Regions from separate parts of the Homo sapiens genome. Here regions 2, 3, 4, 5, 6 and 7 are each linked to region 1. Evidence: promoter capture Hi-C in 16 types of primary human blood cells and fetal thymus (Javierre and others, 2016). All regions are on one chromosome and are shown on one strand. Each heading gives the region's core, a stretch centred on a gene start or on the middle of the fragment in contact. The rest is flanking DNA. Distances are from core to core; before and after follow the strand shown.

The links. The method cuts DNA at HindIII sites, captures the fragments that hold promoters and counts their contacts. A CHiCAGO score of 5 or more calls a contact.
Region 2: a contact is called between a fragment that was not itself captured here and the fragment with the promoter of ARL5B in region 1, in 8 of 17 cell types (total B cells, non-activated CD4 T cells, total CD4 T cells and 5 more). The highest score is 14.3, in total B cells.
Region 3: a fragment that was not itself captured here is called in contact with the fragment with the promoter of ARL5B in region 1 in 1 of 17 cell types (total CD4 T cells); the score reaches 5.5 in total CD4 T cells.
Region 4: a contact is called between a fragment that was not itself captured here and the fragment with the promoter of ARL5B in region 1, in 4 of 17 cell types (fetal thymus, total CD8 T cells, monocytes and 1 more). The highest score is 9.5, in fetal thymus.
Region 5: a contact is called between a fragment that was not itself captured here and the fragment with the promoter of ARL5B in region 1, in 3 of 17 cell types (monocytes, total B cells and total CD4 T cells). The highest score is 7.9, in monocytes.
Region 6: a fragment that was not itself captured here is called in contact with the fragment with the promoter of ARL5B in region 1 in 1 of 17 cell types (naive B cells); the score reaches 5.1 in naive B cells.
Region 7: a contact is called between a fragment that was not itself captured here and the fragment with the promoter of ARL5B in region 1, in 2 of 17 cell types (activated CD4 T cells and non-activated CD4 T cells). The highest score is 8.5, in activated CD4 T cells.

What each region holds. Positions count from the first base shown.
Region 1 is chr10:18,658,111-18,660,810 of GRCh38, reverse strand. ARL5B (ARF like GTPase 5B) reads right to left here and starts at 1,380. Exons shown (of 6, transcript NM_178815.5): 1 at 1,128-1,380. The coding sequence starts at 1,173. It also overlaps a transcript of NSUN6 not described here. RefSeq lists a silencer at 1,212-1,291 and enhancers at 1,602-1,731, 2,432-2,551. The HindIII fragment of the contact is 6,724 bases long and covers 1-2,337 here.
Region 2 is chr10:22,341,888-22,344,609 of GRCh38, reverse strand. No RefSeq gene overlaps it. Among named protein-coding and RNA genes, the nearest start is that of SPAG6, 2.2 kb to the left of the region's middle. The HindIII fragment of the contact is 688 bases long and covers 967-1,654 here.
Region 3 is chr10:22,388,534-22,391,233 of GRCh38, reverse strand. SPAG6 (sperm associated antigen 6) reads right to left here. Exons shown (of 11, transcript NM_012443.4): 7 at 1,922-2,074. Among named protein-coding and RNA genes, the nearest start is that of SPAG6, 44 kb to the right of the region's middle. The HindIII fragment of the contact is 683 bases long and covers 934-1,616 here.
Region 4 is chr10:22,318,793-22,321,492 of GRCh38, reverse strand. COMMD3-BMI1 (COMMD3-BMI1 readthrough) reads right to left here. Exons shown (of 14, transcript NM_001204062.2): 5 at 2,475-2,534. It overlaps COMMD3 (COMM domain containing 3), which reads right to left. Exons shown (of 8, transcript NM_012071.4): 6 at 2,631-2,687; 7 at 2,475-2,534; 8 at 1,187-1,554. The coding sequence ends at 1,495. BMI1 (BMI1 proto-oncogene, polycomb ring finger) reads right to left here and starts at 394. Exons shown (of 10, transcript NM_005180.9): 1 at 1-394. RefSeq lists silencers at 30-229, 420-589, 650-909. The HindIII fragment of the contact is 6,481 bases long and covers 1-2,700 here.
Region 5 is chr10:22,227,128-22,229,827 of GRCh38, reverse strand. It overlaps TRN-GTT2-3 (tRNA-Asn (anticodon GTT) 2-3), which reads left to right and starts at 246; the gene lies at 246-319. RefSeq lists a silencer at 545-794. The HindIII fragment of the contact is 2,726 bases long and covers 1-2,669 here.
Region 6 is chr10:22,250,043-22,253,025 of GRCh38, reverse strand. It overlaps LOC105376447 (a long non-coding RNA gene), which reads left to right. Exons shown (of 2, transcript XR_001747390.3): 2 at 1,093-2,983. It overlaps LOC100130992 (a long non-coding RNA gene), which reads right to left and starts at 954. Exons shown (of 1, transcript NR_038921.1): 1 at 1-954. RefSeq lists a silencer at 101-620 and an enhancer at 1,571-1,650. The HindIII fragment of the contact is 5,966 bases long and covers 1-2,983 here.
Region 7 is chr10:22,027,390-22,030,144 of GRCh38, reverse strand. No RefSeq gene overlaps it. Among named protein-coding and RNA genes, the nearest start is that of DNAJC1, 25 kb to the right of the region's middle. The HindIII fragment of the contact is 1,996 bases long and covers 504-2,499 here.

The DNA.
Region 1 (2,700 bases), core at 131-2,630:
GTGAAGCTCTGCTCACTTTGAAATCATTTGATAAGTAATATTATCTGTGGTTACTGGATACAGGCATATACATATATATACACATGTGTGTGCCTGTATCTATATTTATAACCTTGAAAAAGACTGCTTTAGTGTTCTTATCAATCTACAGAACAAGTCAACTAAAGCCATTCCATTACCTCCACAACTTCTTAAATCCAGAAAAAGATTAGATACCTACATTAGCAGTAACAAATTGGTACCAACATAAAAGGAAATAAAACTGGCTTATTAACGATGCCCGGCTCTTAAATGTAAAATGAAACGAGTTGATTTTCAAAACTGGTTTCAATTACTAAGAAACCATTCTGTTCAAAGGACGCCTCAAACTTTAACTTATCGTCGGCCCCTTTTTTGGTCTGGGTGTTTTCTCTCTTCAGAAGACATCACATCTCATTCTGATTCAGAACAGGTTTTGCAACTTCTCGGCCCTTTGGACCTGCCACTTCCAGGTGTCTCATTACCTGTTACAGACTAATTACGGACACGTAACGTCTTACACAAAACCGAAAAGCATTTAGTTTCTGAACTAAATGCTTTAAAAAAAAAAGTTTACAATGAAGATGCTGGAAAACTCGTGCATCTGAATAGGACAACTCATTCCCAAGTCCTAGAGGAAAGGAGGCGAAATCAGAGTGAAAGTGCACTGGCTTACGGCTCAAACTGCAGGGCGGGAAAACAAAGCACCTACATTACTCAAAAAAAAAAAAGTTCTAGGTTTCTGGGCGGACACTTATCCTGGGGATACACATAGACACAAGCACGCTTCAATAAAGACGAGAAAGGCCCTCCATACGCCTCCTGGCATCATTAGCTGTATCCCGCTTTACTTCGCCAATATCCAAACATTCTCAGTTTGGATTCTGGGACGCCAAATACCTTCTCTTCTGCCTCCCTATTTCTCCCACACGTCAGGTCTCTCCTGTACGTCCTCCAGGTCTAAAACACTGAGTTTCTGCCCGCCCCCTGGCCTAAGTCCCTTCCTCCTCCGCGTCTCCGAACGCTCTGTCCCCTGTCTCCGGTGTCCCCATCGGCGGCGGGACCCTCTGCCTCGGATTCGAGCCGCCGCGCAGCTCCATTCTTCTCACCTTGGTTACAGAAGAGGCTCCACAGTTTGGCGAAGATCAGCCCCATCACGAGCACCGGGGCGGGCCGCGGGGTCCCTCGGCAGCAGGTGCCGCTGCGCCGGGTCCCCCACCGCGGCGCGGGCTGCGCGGAGCCGAGGAGAACCCGCCTGAGATCGCGCAGCGAGGGCACTGCTAGGCCGAGAAGCCTCGACCCGACCACTCAGAAGGCGCCGCGACGAATCCCCACCGGACAGCCCTTTGTTTCGAGCCCACTGAGCCCAACGCCGACCCGTAGTCCCCTCGGTCTGTACCCACCTACCTACCACAGCCTCTCCACAGCCCCAAGCCCCGCCTCCACCCCGCCTCCCCTCCGGATCCCAGGACCACCCATCGCCGGAAGCTAGGCGCGTGACGACGGCGCACTTACGGCAACCCACGCCTTCGACGTGGCGTTTTCTTCGGTTTCACTTCCGGTAGGAGAGTCCCAAACGGCCAGCGGCTGGGAATTTGCGGTATCGCGGGGGGGTGGGAAATTTCCCTTGGTGCGTGCTCCTTCTGATGTCAGCCTTCAAAACGTTTGTGGGACTCCCCTTTGATTTGAGTCTCTGCTGCTAGCAGCTGCTTCCCTGACCTCTAAAACCAGGAAAGACCATAGGTTCTCTAAGTGAGCAGCCGCCGTTTGCTGCTCTTAGAAAACTCACAGAAGTGAAGAGTGTTTCTTTCCTGACTTATTCCTGTTCCCCTAGGCAGGCGTGCTAGGGGTTAGGAGTTCTGCCGTGATTCTTCTTCATTCATTTATTAATCTATTCATTCACGTATTCATTCATTGGCTTATGCATTTATGTACTCATTGATTGATTGATCGATTGCAGACGAGGTCGGGCTGTGTTGCCCAGGGGGACTCAATTTCCTGGGCTCAAGCGATCTTCCTGCCTCGACTTCCCAAAGTGGTGGGATTGCAGGCTCAGCCACCGCGCCCGGCCCCTGTCGTGATTCTTAGTTCTGAAAAGAATTGATTGGGAGACGAGCCATGGAAGGCCTGGAGCCACAGAGTTCAGTTATGTGATTAATAATAACACATAATAATAACACATAGCACCCCTCTCCATTTTGCCAAGCATTAGGTATGTTCGTGGATCCCAGATCGAAGTCCACGCATAAGCCAATTCGCTGTGTAATTGTTTTCAATTCCACTTTCCATGGTTAGGTTCTAGCATTGAAAAGAAAAGCTTCACAGCCTGGCATGAAACGAAACTGAATGTCCTTGAAACCAGTTGACGGAGGAGCAAGCTTAAAATTTTTTTAGACTCTGACTTCAGTCAGATGGTTGGATTTTAACCTTGGCAACGTGGCCTTTTAACATGCCAAACTCTTGAGTTAACCTGTACAAGGAGAATGTATGACTTACGTCCTCCCAGTGCTATGGTTTAAAGACCCTTTAAGACTTAGATGCAGGATAATATGCTCCAACGTTACAACATTAAAGGCAAGTTTCAACCTCCTATGTAGAGGAAAAAGAATGTACTGACCCTATGCAAACTTAACTTTCATGACTATCAGTTGGACCATAAATGTGAATAATTTTGTGTTTGTG
Region 2 (2,722 bases), core at 61-2,560, 3.7 Mb before region 1:
AACAAAATTGAAGTACTTAGTCTATTACTGGTTTCTAGCTTGTCTTTGAAAACTATATACCAGTTGTTTCAATGACAGTTGTCAACTTTAAATGTTCCTCCATCAAAAACTACAATTTCACCAGATGTCAAGTGGATACATAGCCGCAGCTGCTGCTAAGTAGTGCCAAGACAGGAAACCCCTTGATATTTCTTCAACAGAAGGGAGCATGCAAACTTAACTGGTTCTATATTTGGAATGAGTCCTCTATATTTATCTTTGAGATCTCACCCTTCACTGAGCTCTTGATGAAGTCCTGATACTTTGTGGAGCTCCAAATAGTTGGGGAATGGTCCAGCAATCAGAGAGAAGAATAAGTGTGTTTAGTCGGGTCCCTAATACCCCCGAAGGGCAGGTACATGTCTTCTGCTTCTGCAGCTCAAAAGCCAGTGATGGCCACAATCTTTTTACTTAATTCAAAGTCGTAAGTTTTACAGTGATATCTATATTTCCCTATGGGAATATGTCCTTTAAAATTAAAGTTATGCGTTCCCATTTAGAGACGTGGGAGGAAACAGATTGAGTAAATAATTAAGATTGCAAATAAGCCTTGTAATTTTCAGTTCCTTGTTGAATGATGAAAAAAAATCCCCTTAAAAGTTTTTATATTTGGTTTCAGTCCTTAAACAAACAATTCAAACTCTTAAGCTACTCCAACTGCCATTTTTAGCAACTGCTTTACTATTTGTTTTCCATTTTAAAAGTGTTAAGAGCTCAATAGAGGGGGAGAGGTCTAAACCTATAAACATAACACAGTATGGGATGCTACTAAGTTCTTTGAAAACATACGTTCAAAAGCTATGTAAATTACTTTAGAGTCTGAGTATCTGTTATTAACAATATCTTTTAGTTAAATTGTATTATTCCTGATAAAACATAATATAGGATGCCTACTTCATATCTGAAATTGGACATATTAAAGAAGCTTGATCTTTGCTCTTTATTTTAGGTTCCTTCTTAAAAAAATCTTAAAAACTAAATGGAGAAATGTATGTAACACAGAGTGATTACAATATGCATATAAGTGAAATTATTAGTAATTCAAGCATAAAATATGGCAGATTACTTTTACTGACAAGAAAACCAATCTGTATTTTCTGACCCATTTTTCAATGTACTAACTCTAAAACAAAATACTATTCTGTTTTCTAAAGTTAAATGAATGTCCCATGATCACATACACACCTCTAAACTAACAGTTAAGCAATGAAAAAGAAAACAATTCAAAGGGATACTTCGGTATTTTAAAAAGTATTACAGGAAGATTACTGTTCTTAAAGTACCAGCTGACTTTAGAGATATACAATGTAACTGGCACATAAGACTATACATTTGATTGAGAATGAACCATTAGCTGAACAACTTGCAAAAAAGTGTTTCCATGAAAGGTTTGTTTGGAAGCCTTTGGCTACTTTTGTAAAACGCTAATCATAATATGTAACTTCAAAATCACTTTTTCAAATATTTCCTCCTTTATTTATGAAAATGAGACTGAAAATGACAACAAAATAAAGCCAGTTTTAAAATCTTGTTGTTTCTCTTTGCATACCTCCTTTGAGAATTCAGAAAATCCTATTATCATGGGAATATATGCTATACATACCTAAAAGAAGCTTTGCTAATTTTAACACCCATGTATTTTTTCTTCAGTTCCTAGCTGAATTTTAAAATTTAAAGATTTATATATGCTAATTAGATATTAATATCTGCATTTTAAAACTGTCATTGAGTTGAATCAAGTGTTTATATATATTCTGCATCAAGCCTAACACGTATTCATTATTAATGTGTGTCAAACACCTTGCTAATAACAGAATGTGCCTTTCTTCCAGGACATGAAGTCTAGTAGCAGATAGACATCACTTCATTCTACCAGCATATATACCGCAGCCTGCATTCATTCAATGGGCATGTACTGCAGTCTGCCACTGTTTTAAGGGCTGTAATTGCTCTAAGTGCTATTAGTGTTTTGGGGGCAAAGATGAGGGACTTATGGTAAAGTAGGCGAAGAAGTGAGAATACCTAAAACATCATTTAAATAACAAAAGGCTTCTTGTTTTTAATAAAAATTAGCTGAGTTCTATGCAGCTATGAAATTTCCCTCCCCTAAAATAATTTTTTCCCCAAAATCATTGTTAGCATTTAAGAAGGCATTCAACGGGCAATTGCATGTAATTACTGAAGTTATGAGACTACATTAATCATTTTGCAAACACTAAATTTAAAATTACTAAAATAATTCATAGTTACATACTGGAATTAAAAATAAAGGCATTACTTAGTCCATAACCAAGTTGGTGGAACAGAAATATTACCTATAATGATGAAAGTAAACATGACTATCTTAAATGGTGCATCGCGCCTCTTTTGGGAAATAATGTCAGGATTTTAGGTCTGAGCCGACCACCCAGTTATTTCATCAAGTTTGTCAGCAGAGCAGAAGAGACTTGCACACTTCCATCCGGGAAGGGAAGATTGAAATTTCTATGCATGTTTTGTGTTTATGCCTTACTCCCTATTCTTCGCTTTTCAAACCTTTTAAAGTCAACTCTTTGCATTTTAAAGTTTTTCTTTTTAGTATTAAGGTCAATGTCAAGATGACAGTGGTTTAACTGGCCCCAAACTCCTAAATATATACCTGTACCTGTCTTCCTTTCCAGTAATTCAGAGGATGAAGAGATGG
Region 3 (2,700 bases), core at 26-2,525, 3.7 Mb before region 1:
TTCCTGAAACAGTACATAAATAACTTTCCATCAATTATGGTCAACTTTTAAATTATAGTTCTTTCCACTTTAACATGACTGAATGTCAAAACAACGACTACTTTTGTTACACAGCACATGCTTACATTTTGCATCTTATGCTTCAATTTTATCTAAACAATAAAAACAGAATAAACTAAAGAGCCTCAAATACATTACATTTTGTATACCCAAGGAACAATTTTAAAAAATCAAATTCTAATTCCAAATTCTGTACAGGTGTAATTTTCTGACTAATTTGAGATTATGGTAATCACCTTAAATTTGGTACCACAAAAAAAGATCACATGGTTATGCTACCACAGCAAAGGCCAGAATCATCATATATACTTTTATTCTTTGCTTTTTAATTTGGTTATTAAGACCAATTTCCTGAAGAGGTCAGCTATATTTCTTCATTGGCTTCTTTCCTACAACTAAAAATGTATGTCTGCCAATATTAAAGGTCAGACCTGTCTTCAGAATGAAGCAACTTTCCAGAAAGCCCACATGTCCAGGATGTAACAAGACTGAAGAAACAGGAGGAAAAGGAGACAGTGCCTCTACTCCATCCCTGAAGCTCTGACTTGTTGGCCTCAATTATAATGAATAACAAATAAGATAAGGAATGCAAATTTGCTTTAAAATTACTATTTAAATGTAAAGTATTATTGTTAGTCTTTATAGTACCACACAGGAAAAGCAGAGAGTGCTACCATACTATGTGGCTTGCCCGAAACTGCTGGAGTTTCAGCAAGCAACACCTTGATCTCTATCTGAAAAACAAACCAAGTGGGAAAGGCCAGCAGCAACCTTAGACCAAAGAAGGGGAGAGCTCCCTGGTTAATTTCAGGAAGGCATATGGGAAGCAACGGCAATTGCTTCTTCTTTCATCATTCTTCCCATGCATAAGCTTCATGACTATCCACAAAAGAACCAAGGATCAAAAACCTAGTAACATCCTTACCGTGACCCTTCAGAAAGCACCACTATTGCTCTAGTCACTATCACAGTCTGTGGTAGTAGAAGAACAAAAGGAAAAGAGCAGGATAAAAGGGAGTAAAGCAAAGAATTATCAAGAAATAGGTAGAAAATAAAGATCTGAGGCTCCTTTTTATTCTGAGGATTAGTAAGGGATAAAAAAAATCCACATTTCTGTTTAACATACAGCAGCAGGTTTTCTATGCTGATAAGAAACCCACACCCCAGAGGGTCACCGCACACACTGTAAGCACACAGGCTTTGAAGCATTCGTCCAGAGATCAATATTTATTCATTAGCACACATTTCGTAAGCACCTACTATGTGCCAGGGCTGCACTAGATGAGGGGTTCTTACAAAATTGTGAACTGAGATAAAGCAAAAGCCCTAGAGCAAGGAAACAAAAACACTGACATGTGCTCTGAATTGCCTAAATCTAAGAAGAGAAATAGTTAATAAAAGCTGAAGAAGAGAAAGTGGATAAAAAGGGATGTCCTAGCCATTGTCATCTCCCACTGAAGTGGCAGGAAATGGAGGGGTATATAGACCTCCCAGAATACTGAAAATGACTACTGGGCATGTCATTTACAAATAGGTGTTTCTAACCAAGGTAAGCTTTACATGTTTGTAGATATGTACAATTAATCCTTCAAGATACAAATAAACTTAATATTTAAATACAGATAATACTAATGCTCAAAATAGTTGATATCCTGTTGATGAGAAACGCTGAGTAAAACTTTAAACTTCCCATTACCTTGCTAATAAAACTTGCTAATAAGCATTGAAACAATCAAAATTTTTTTCAGGTAATTTTTTTGCTCCAGTCAGTTATATTTTGTATTCTGTTGGAGAACATTAATCTGTGGTTCTGTCTTAGAATTTCTTACTGCAACTGGAAGAAAACGAAGCAAGAACAAACCTTAGAAATGATGACTGCCATTGCTAGGTTCTCAGAATGAGCTGCTACATAACCAAGCATCATGATGCCAGGCAGCCGTGTGTTCCCTTTGCAGGACCCAATGCAGTCAATCACGGCAGCAACCCCTCCTGCGTTAACTACCAGCTGTGAAAGCTAAGCGATGGGAACAAGAGTTAGATCACCAGGACCCTATGATGGTCTTTAAATACAGTTTAATATTGCCACACTCTATTTAGAACCTAAAAACAACTGGTGAAATTGAATTATCATTTAGTGAAATTATTATATTTATTAAAGAAATATACAAGTACAATAAACCTGCTAGTTCAAATGCACAAACTGTGAGGAGCTTTACTCTGTGGTTCAATTTTTCATGCATCGATGGCACAACTTTTATCCCTATTATAATGGATGTCAAAATTCCTCATGTAGACTCTAAGCCTAGGGCTGGTTCATAACTAACTACTGAAACCCCCCCATCACAATGGGTGAGTATGAAGCAGATTAATCACTGAATGGTGAAAGACAATGTCGGACTTGAAATATTCTAACCTAATTATTCCCCCTTTGCTAGTAATGATTACTAGCTGAGTGCACTTTAATTTTGAAAAATCTCAAGCAAATAAAGATGTTAGATGAAATAAACAATGAGGACTTAAAGTTTAATGAAATAAAAATTGATTAGTCAAAATATACACAGAAAAAAGATACTTCAGAATCAACACAGGCTTGCTTTCTCTCTATTTCTTTCCCATCTAGGAACTCAGGGCGGGAAATCA
Region 4 (2,700 bases), core at 69-2,568, 3.7 Mb before region 1:
CTCCGGCGCCTCGGCCTCCTCCGGCGCCTCGGCCTCCTCCTCCTCCGCCTCCGCCTCGACCTCCAACGCCTCCTCCTCCGGGGCCTCCTCCTCCTCCTCCTCGGCCGCCGCCGCCTCCTCCCGCTCCGCACTCGGGGGAGGGCGCGCGCGGAGGGGGCGCGATCGGTTTTATTCTGCGGGGCTGGGAGGTGCTGCTAAGCCGGAACGGGGCTCCCGCGCCCACATCCCCATTGTCTCGCCCCGATCTCTGCCTCTCATACTACGATTATTTCATAGTTGCTGTGGGGGAGGCGGGCGGGCGGGGGGCGCCGTGTGTGTGCGTGCGAGCGGGGGGAGGGGAGGAGGGGGAGGGGAGGGTGGAAAAAAATGCACCGCTGAAGGCAGAGTGGAAACTGACACCGGCTCCAAAATGGCTCGGAGTCCGCCCGCCCCCTCCCCCCGCCGCCCCCCCAGCGGGTCACGTGCTCCCCTCATTCCTTAAGGGCGGCCTGGGAATTAGTGTCGGTGTAGTCAGGCCCGTGGCCGCCCCCTCCCCTCCGCGCCGCGCGCCCGGCCCCCTCCCTCGCTCCGCGCCGCGGCGGCGGAGACATTTCTCCACAGCGCCACACGCGCCGCCCTGCTCCGCGCGGCCGCCGCTCCGGCCCCGCACGCCGCGCAGCCCACCCCGCCCCCCGTTCTTTCTTTCTCCCGGCCGCCCGCCTCCTCCCGGGGCGCATACGTCCCGCGGCCGCCGCCCCCCGGCCGGCCCCGCGGGCTGCGGCCCAGGCTCCGGCGCCGCGGCGCGGAACCTGCGCCCAAGTTGGGCTCGCGGAAACAACAGCGCCCGCCCCTGCCCGCCAGCCCGCGGCCGCGCCGGCCTCTTCCCCGCCCGCGGGCGGCCGAGGCGGGGCGCGCGCGGGCGACGGCTGGCTCCGGGCAGGGGCTCCGCGCCGGGCCGGGACCGGGCGGCCGAGGGTCGGGCTGTGGGCGAGCCCTCGGGCGCAGGTAACGGGCCGGGCAGCCGCCCGCGCCCGCCCCCGGAGCCCCGAAGCAGGGGTCTGCGACAAACCCAGGAGATCGCATCGTTTCCTCCGTGTTTAACTTTAATCCTGAGAAAAGGCTATCGTTAAAAGTTCACACTACTCCTATCTAGCTTCACACAAAGTAATAACACACGAACTCAGATCCAAACAAAATATCATCACTCTTTGTGGAAAACAACACCTTATTTATTCAGGGTGTAATACTGTCTACTTCCTTTCAGAAGACTTGAAAAAGATCAAAATAGGATAAATGGACAGTTACTACTAAACGATTCAAATACTTGGGCAGTATCTTTCCCTCTTAACCCTTTCACACGTTTTTAAAGTGTCAAAATTGATGAATGGTATAAATTCAAAAGGAAAATTCTTTTCTACTGAAAAGGACATCCAGCTCGCACAAACGGTGGTTCAGCTGAAGGCAAGGCGTTTCTGGTTTTCCTCTGCACTCGGGCGGATCGTTAACTTCCCCAAGTTACAACTGAGTTGCTCTTTCCAGGCTTTTCGAAGCATCTTTAAGTTTCCCCACCAAGTCCTAAAAGACGTGTATACAATACCACGTTTTTAGGATAAAACATGGAAAGAAGTATCCAAGCTCAAGAAAGATGCAAGAAAAAAAATCAGGACACACCTTCCAAACAAGTTTAAAATTCAACAAGATTTTAACTTTTGACAAACTACTATCGGGCAAAAAAAGCGTTTCCTCGGAAATACCTCATGTTCAAATCGGTTATTTGCCCTCACACTGAAACATGATTTCTAACCGGATCCTTAACCGCCCAGATACATCTGAATTTTCTCAAGTTATCTAACAAAGGTTATGCTGTATACACATTTTCTGAAAGTTGAAAGTTTGATTCATAGTTACATTAAAACGACTCTGCAGAAGATGCCTTTGAAAAATTCAATTTCACTTAAATTTCCAGTAATGAGCTTCATTTTTTAAAAACTATGAAATAAATTCGTTGTCATATCCACTAATAAATGTAGTTTTGAATTTTCCCAGTCTTAAATGGGCAATATAAACAGTTTTAGAATGTTATGTATACTTCCCCCTTTATAAAGTCATTTAAAAAGTTTCAAAATCCAATTTTGACAGTTTAATTCAATTTCTGAAAGCAAAGACATTTTCAAAGCCATGCTCTTAATTTTGTTTATCTTATTGGACCAAACTCATCATGAATAGAAGAAATTTACACTAAACACTACAGAAGTTTATTTCAATCAGCAAGAACAGCAAATACAGACCAATTCTCTATTAATAACATCTTAATTTCAAGTGAAGCCTATCTTAAAATACTACTTTTGATGCCCCTTTCCCATTAAATCCTTAACCAATCTTCATTATCTGCTGACAAATGGTTAGATTAATTTTCTTTTGAACTTCCCAAGAGTATAACTCTCAAGTAAACATTTATAAAAAGACAGGAATATTTATAGATCCTAATACTGTACCTGTAATTGTTCCATGCTGCAACTAAAACTAATCTCTGGATAGGATGGGGAATCAGTGTTCTAGGGCAGGAAAAAAAACACGCAACAAGAAACGCTGTTTATTTAAATCAATGAAATTATAAATTTCATTATTGGATAAGACTTATCTATAAATACCTGTACACTTAAGGTCACCAAATATGCAGGTCTGTACATCCTATGAAGTTGATTGGTCTAAAATAACACA
Region 5 (2,700 bases), core at 57-2,556, 3.6 Mb before region 1:
TTCCAAATGGGAGTTGGCGGGGGGGAGCAACAGTATTTTAATACATTTTGCAATCTGCAATGCTGCTTGATTTTGTTGTATAATTTTGCGATATGCTTAAAAGGTGGAAAATAGAATTAAGAGGGTTGGAAACGTGAAGTAAAATATTTTGGTTCTGATAGTACCAATCAGAAAGCAGAAACAGCCACACACTGCCTTTATTATTCTTCATAAAGGCTGAGGCAGAAGGGGAAAATGACACCGAAGTCTCTGTGGCGCAATCGGTTAGCGCGTTCGGCTGTTAACCGAAAGGTTGGTGGTTCGAGCCCACCCAGGGACGCGCTCTCCTTTTATGAGCTGGTCGCGGGAAGTTTTGCAGAAATCGAGTTCAGGCCTCCGGGATAAGAAGGGGTGGATTTCCAGGGACCAAGCAAAGAAACCACCGACCCTTACACTACGCGGCCAGCCGGCGAGCCCTTCGCTTTCGGCCGGTGCAGAGCGGCCTCCTCTCCCCCGCTGTCCTCTCCCGGCTGCAGGTGAGCGCGGCCACTCCTTCCCCGGGGTCTTCACGGCGGTCTAGGCCTCGCCAGGGTGCTGGAGCGGGGACGCGCAGAGGCCGCGCGGGCCCGTTTGCCGCGCGCGCCCGCCGCTCCAGCTCTGCGCGTCCCCGGAGGCCCGCGCGTACACGGGGAAGGCGGCCCGGGCTGGTCTTGCTCGGCTTCGTGACGCGTGAAATGTAACGGGGCCACCGAAATGCATGTATTTCAACAGTGTCAAGTTCAAGCTGCAAACTGAAAACTCCTACATTTTGTTGAAGCATGGCCGCCCTTTTGTCTGTTCCCTGTCAGCGTAAACATCTCCGTTTGCGACTTAAACATTAATTGTTCCTGGTATTAATGCCTTCAGAAATAATTTTTGTGTAGTAAATCTTTCGTGTGGACAATATTGTAAGAATATATATTATATTTTACTTTTTCTACTAAAACGCTTGAATTTAGTAGAGAATAGAATAAGCCTGCAACACTTCCCATCAAGGCGGAAAAGGAGAAAACCTCTTTTACAATAGTATGACTGTTAAACCTGAAAAAAAAGAATGATGAGAAAGATTGAATGTGAAGCTGCTACCATACTTTGCTTCAACTTTCTACTTTCAACGTCCCCTACCTTTTATTTCCCCAAATGCAAAGCCCTCTCAAAATAGTTTCCTTCTATTTTATTACTTTGAGAAATAATCATAGTTTCATCATAATAATTATTGTTTTGGCTTGGACTACAGAAAATTGAAAGACAGTTTTGAAGAAAAGTGTAAGAACTAATACATCTTATTCCTGTGGATATATTGTTTTATATTCGTTATGTTTCAGCTCAGTTGACATATTAATAAAGGCTTATTTTATTGAGTGCTTTCGTGGAGAAAGGTATGTAATCTTCATAAGTCTTCCAGGTCCTATTATTGCCATTGTACAGATGAGGCAACTGAGGCACAGTGCGACTGAGTAAATAGCTGAGTAATTTGCCGGAAGTCACAGTGAGTTTGGAACCTGGGTAGTCAGGCCCAAGCCCAAGCTCCTCCCTGATGTACTGCCTTCTTGGAAGTTCCTTCCTCTAAAATACAGCTACCTAATTAGTTAATTTGAAACCAAAAGATACTTGAATTGGTTTTTATGAAGTTTCGTTAATATTTTGCTCCAAATCTTGTAAAGGGGGTAAAATAAAAACCAACACAACATTTGTGGCGTGCTAAAGGGCATTGTTAAATTATGCATTCATTGGGCTGCTCAATTTTATTCAAATGAAAGCTGTGTGTGCATAGGAAGTATTCCTGGGGAATCTGTCTTAGGGAAACAATTTGTTAGCATTTAGGTACAGAAGGCAAGATGAGAGAGAGAGGCAGGCAAAATCTGGAAGGAGACAGATTCAGGATAGATTCAGGCCATGGAGTCTAGAGACTAAGGATTCTTTGACCCCAAGCTGATGTTTGGGAATTGGCACATCCACGTAGACCCCTGTTTCAGGACACTTTTGTGAGATAGTACCAGAATTTGTACTTGACCAGGGGCCTAGGTGGCAGTTTAAAATTTGATCTTAAATTTCTAAATACATTCTATTTCACCCTATTTTGGGTATTAATATGATTTAGAGACCAGAAAATGGAGGAGAATTAAATGGGAATGGAGGTGTCACACTGAGTGCAAAACTCCCCTCTAATGTAAGCAGAAGCAGTTGCTGTGATTATGTGGACAAGTGCTTAGGCCATTTCCTTGGCTCTTGCAGGCAGGTAAGATAGGTGGGTCCCAGTGTGGGTGGCTGACACCGGTAGTCTCAGCACTTTAGGAGGCCAAGGCAGGAGGATTACTTGAGCCCAGGAGTTGGAGACCAGCCTGGGCGACAGAATGAGACAGCATCTCTACACAAAATAAAAAATTAACCCAGCATGGTGATCACTTCATTGCACTCCAGCGTGGGTGACAGAGTGAGACCCTGTCTCAAGAAAAAAAAAAAGGTAGGTGGGCAACAATTTGGAAGAATTGCACAAATATTTATGGATGCATTGGCCTTATAAAATTTCAACGTGTCATGGTTGTTGATGTTGCAATAAATGCTATTTCTGAGGAGCATCTTTTTGTCCTTAATTTCTGGGCTCTGTAATACCAGCCAAACCTAGATATATGTCAAGATCATTTAAAGCTTTAATTAAAGGCTGAATAGCATTTAAAAGGC
Region 6 (2,983 bases), core at 336-2,835, 3.6 Mb before region 1:
CCCCAGGACGTAACCCCGAGGAGCTTTCAGACACTGGCCGCGCCTAATATCGCTGAGAACCGCGAAAACCGGAGTTCCGGCCGCCTCCCGGACTGGCGTCCCGAGGCCAGGGGACCCGCTTGGGGCTCCCGGCCGAGCCCCGACCTCGGACGTTTTTCCGGGAGCCGCGAGAGGCCTGGGGGCCTGGGCCAGGCGCCGCGGCGGGCATCGATCGCCGGCTCCCAGAGAGTGGCCCCGCGCAGGTGGAGGTGACCCCGTCACCTCCAGGAGCGCCCCCAAGCCCCGGTACCCGCAGCGTGCGCCCTCTCCTCCTCCCCGAAGGTTAAGTTCGTCTTTTTCGGTTCTCGGTTACGCATCCCCTTGGCACGCATGCCCAGCCACACCGTGGGCGAAACTAGAGGGCCCGCGTCCCCTGGGGGCTGCCGCGGGGCCCCGAGTGAGGTGTCCCCTCCGGGCCGGGCCCGAGTCGGAGGCCCCCTTTGCAGCCTAGAGGAGCGCGGGGCTGGCGCTGCGCAGGAACCGCCAGGCCGGGGAGGGGGCCGCGCCCGGGCCTGGGCCAAGAGCGCGCGTCCCCCGCCCGGGCCCTGCGGCCCTCCCCAGGTGTCTGAGCAGAGCTGCTGAAGCTGCAGAAATGTGCTGGCGCCTGTCCACCGCCGCACACAAAACCCAGCCAAAAGCGGCGAGAGGAAAAGCGAATATGGCGCTGCTGAAAATGGAGACTCCGCATCTAGAAAGTCTTTCTTTCCTTTCCTCTTTTCGCTCTTACTTCGTCGATCTTTTCCCCCTTGCCCTCTCACGAGGGCCTCCTGCGCTTTCCTTCGGGTGTTCTCTACCCCTCGGCCCCTTTCCTGTTCTTATGAATAACCTCCTTTACTCGGTTTTCCTTCTTCCTTTCCACTCCCGGTTCCTCTTTCTCCATTTTGTGTCACAGGCGCCTTGCTTCTTGTTCCCTTTCAGGGCGCGCACTCCCCCGCCCGGCTCACTTTATTTTGTGTGTGGGTGGCGGAGCAGGGAGGGGGTGGCAAGGATCGTGAGGCTAAGTATCGAGTTTGTTTGTTTGTTTTTCTTTCTTTCTTCTTCTTCTTTTTAAAGGTGTTATCTTAGGAGCCAAGCATCTCCTTTGGTCCTGCGCTCCTTCGCCTAGCGCCTGGTGCCCCCCACCCGGCTGCATCCGAGGCTTGCGCGGCCCGGTCCCATCAGCCGAGCGTCGCCCGCCCAGGAGGAGGCTCGGGTTCTCCGCAGAAGCGAATACTTTCTCTTTTTGTTTTAAGTTAGAACCTTGCTTTTGCAGTGATTCGTTGCTGTGGCGTGATTTTAAACAGGTGAGAAATCGGAGTCTCATTTTCCCAGGGGGGCTTCCAATGAGGATTTTAAGAGAAGCGTGCAAAGAAGACAGCAATGTCCATCTTTTTTTTTTCTTGTTTTCTTTTGAACAGAGGGAACCCCCACGCGCTGAGATAGTTATGTTTTTAAGGCTAAACTTTTTTAAAATTAGTTTTTCTTTTACACTTATGGCTGACTTTTGATCCTTTTAAAGAAAGGATGAAGTCAAAACAGATTAATGCTTTTGAATACACAACGTCCCCACGTCCCCAAATTGTGGTGCTGGGATAGTTCCTCTAAGATGCATTCTGATTTTGAAGTTCAAGGTCTCTAAGCGCTGTTAAGCGGAACCATGAAAAATACGTTGCTACATTAAAGATAAAACAGACGGTGATACTGACTGCAGAATCGTAGTAGAAACTTTTTTTTTTTTTTTGAGGCTGTGCAGGATTTGCCTTGGTTTTATTAGGGAACCTGCTAATAGAAGCAATTTCAAGTGACGGGCTTCCCTCAGTAAAAAGCTGGAAGCAATGACATCTTTTCTATCTGAGTGACTCTCCTTAGTCGTGGTAAATAAATAAATAAATAAATAAATAGATAGATAGATAGATAAATAAATAAATAAATAAAAATTAGTTTACATGCAGTGTTTGAAAAGAAAATGATTTTGCTTCCCAAGTTTTTATGTGTTTTCTTTTTTACCAACTATATTTCACTTTATTTACAATTGTCAGTTTATTCTCACACCTTCTGGTTAGTTTTATCTTCTCACCATGGTCTGTTAGAACCCCATCCTCGAGCAAAAAAACAAAAACAAAAACCACCCCCCCAAAACAAACAAACAAACAAACAAAACAGGTGTTCATCCCTGTGAGATGCTAATGCCCCTGGAACTGTTTGAAAAGAGCAAAATTTTGTAAGGAGATTCTTTTCAAAAAGTGTTAGAGAAGTATTCTTCAAAAACATCTTAGAATGTTTCCTTAAAAAATTTCCTTTCTTGGTTTTCATTAATTGCCTTTGATTAAAATTAGGTTACAAACATATCTTAATTTCAGACTGTTTCTTTATAAAAGAAAGGAGAAAGTAAATAGGTGTTGGCAAGGACTAAACCAATGCAACTAGGCCCTGTTGAGAGCCTAAATCTGTAAACTGGTACCCTTAAAAAACATCAATCAACTTGAGGTTCGTACAGGTAGTTCTTTGACTCAAACAGTTGATTTTTAAAAGTCTTATAAAATAGGTTAAAATGTGTTTTTAGTCCAGGTTCCTACTTCTTTGTTATGCATTTCTCCTCGTAGATAAATAAATGAATCTAACTTGATGAGTAGGTAGATTTTTCTCCAGAAGAACTTTCTAAAAATGGGCAAAGTTAGGGAAGTGATTAATACCCTTCAGTTTAATTGGAATTATTCAGTGCTTATACCAAGTTAATCCTATTAAGATGCTATTTCCTGCTCAGGGGGATAAATTAAGCACAACTTAGATTATTTTAGGTGGACAACTGGTATATAGTCTAAGCAATGGGGGCTGGAAAAAAGTATCTCTTCTCCAAAAAATATAGATTATGTACCAGTAATGTTCAAAGTACTTTGAGGAAGTGTATTGATGGGATGAATATAAATCATAGTGACTGTTGTTAAGGGGTTTACGGATTATAAAG
Region 7 (2,755 bases), core at 252-2,751, 3.4 Mb before region 1:
TTTCTACGGTAGTTAATATCTCTAAAGTCAGAGAAGGTAATGCTCTGTGAGAGAGAGTTTATTTAGCCAGTTAAGGATTAATTACTCTTGCAGTTTTGTTCTACTGTGAAAGTGCAATACACAATGGGCAGGAACCCAGTGTCAGAGTAACGGCAAATAACCTTTTACCTCTCTCTCTCTCTCTCAAATAGAGACCATTCATATAAGCTATCTATCTCAGAAAATTGTGAGTTCTTGATATTTTGAAATTATTAAAGGATTTGCCTTTAGGAGCTCTTTTTGAAAATGTTCAATTCTCAAATTTCTAGCTTTGAAACTATATCATGCACTGATCTACAAAGGCTAATTGCAATCAAGCTTACTTCTACTGAATGCTGATCGATGGTGAGTAACCACGATAACACTGATCAAGGGACAGCGTTCTATAGTTGAATGAGTCACTCCATTTCTACCAGAAAATAATTACATAAGGTCTAGAAACGTGTCTCTCCCAGTAGAAAGCTTTGTAATGATCTAGTGCGGAGGGAAGTAAAAGTACAAAACAAGATAAGAGCCACATATGAGGGTGTTTAATCTCTGTGCCAAGTACAGAAAGGAACTCTGCTCTATGGTTTTTATCTGTGAATCTAGAAGCAGCTGAGGCGGTGAACCTCAGTGTATGTGTAAATTTCTATCGTTGTTGGCTTTCTCTTCCAATAAAAGCCTTATCTGAATTGAGCTGAAACAGCTTATTTTCATCCATCCCATTTGGGTCCAGTTCCAGAAAGAGTTGAGAAATCTCATCCTTGGAGTAGACTTGAAAAGAGACCCACCTGGATTGTATTTATATGTGCATGGTAATCCCACCTAGACTCCTCTGAGAGCTGGCAGGTTCTCCCCTTCCTTCTGACCATGCCAAGTGACCTCTTACCACACTCAACTATGATAGCTCATATCTAACTTTTCTGTACTGTATTATTATGTATCTACTACATCTGCAACAGATACTTTCTCTGGGACCAAACTTTTGCTTTAAAATGATAGGACCAGTCTCAGAGAGTCACCTATTGTCTGACTCTATTTCCATTGCATTCTTTTTTTAAAAAACACCTTTATTGAGATATAGTTCACGTGCCATGTAATTCACCCATTTAAAGTGTACAATTCAATGGCTTTTAGTATATTCACAGAGGTGCAACCATCACCACAATCAATCTTAGGACATTTTTATTAAGCCCTCCCTTCTAGATCACTTAGCCATCACCAAAAATTCCCCCCATCCCACCCAGCCCATGGCAACTACTAATCTCCTTTCTGTCTCTACAGATTTGTCTATTCTGGACATTTCAAAAAGAAATGGAGTCATCCGTTGTGTGATCCTTTGTGCTTGGCTTCTTTCACGTGGCATATTTTCAAGGTTCATCCATGTTGTGCCATGTGTCAGTACTGTCTTTTAATTGCCAAATGATATTTCATTGAATGATATACTCCATGACACTCTTGAGATGACATTATAGACTTAGAGAACAGATGTTAGGAGTGGTGGTTTGGGGAAGAGTTGACATGACTGGCTATGAAGGAATAAAGAATAACATGAAGGATCGTTGTGATAGAACCATTATGTAACTTAACCGTGGTAAAATTGCATAGAACTAAACACACCTACTTATGCATACACACACACACACACACACACCACACATACACAAGTGAATGTATGCAAATCTGGTAACAACTGAATAAAGTCAATAGTTTGCAGCAGTATAAGTTTTCTGGTTAGGATATTGTACTCTAGTTATGCAAGCTGTTACCATGAAAAGAAACTGAGTAAAAGGTATATGAGATTTCTTTGTATTACTTCCTACAACTGCAGGTGATTTCATAATTTTGTCAAAATAAAAAGTTAAAAAAATAATACTGGGACCTGGACAATAGTTCAAGGATGGCAGAGTAAGAACCTCTGAAAATTTATTTCTCCATAAAAGCAACAAGAACACTGGCAAAAAAAAAAAAACAACTGTCAAATTCAACTTTTCATAACTCTGAAAATTAACCAAAGGCTTGCAAAAATTTGAGTGCTTAGGCAAGAAAAATGGCTGAATCCTGGTAAGAACAGGAGGCTTGATGGCATTTTAACCTACTCTGTCCTCATGCTCCTCTCCCCAGCTCTAGAGTAGCCTTGAAAACAAAGAGAACTGCAATCATGGTGAAAGCTAACAATCTAGAAGCCACTGGAGGGAACAGAATGTTGAAGCCCCATTCCTAGATAATGGTCATTACGTGACCTGTCTGGCAGGTTCCTGGAAAATCTCACTCATAAGACTTGTCTTTATTCGACCCGACTCAGGGAGCACTCACCATGAACAGCATTTTACCCAAAGGTATTTGTCAAAAACAATTAGTGGCAATTATTTAACATTACAGCTGCACGAGGCTTGTGATGATAACAGCTAGGACAAACAACAAGCTGACCAAAAACTTAAAAGGAAATGCGGGAGAATAAGATATTAATAATAAGCTTTGAAAAGCTCTGATATATTCCTGGGAAACTAGAAGGCTACACATATGCACAGGGCTGTGTGCATGCGCATGCCCAGGAAATTGCTGAGATGGTCCTAAACCCTCGCCTCTGGCTAACTATCAGTCTCTGTGCAAGCAGAAAGTGAAATTTGAAGCAGAATTGTAAACTGCCTGTCTGAACATTGGAGGCAAATCCCAATATGCACACAACACCCCTCAGCAAAGGCTGGCAGGCTTGTTGGTTCCAAGAGTTTAA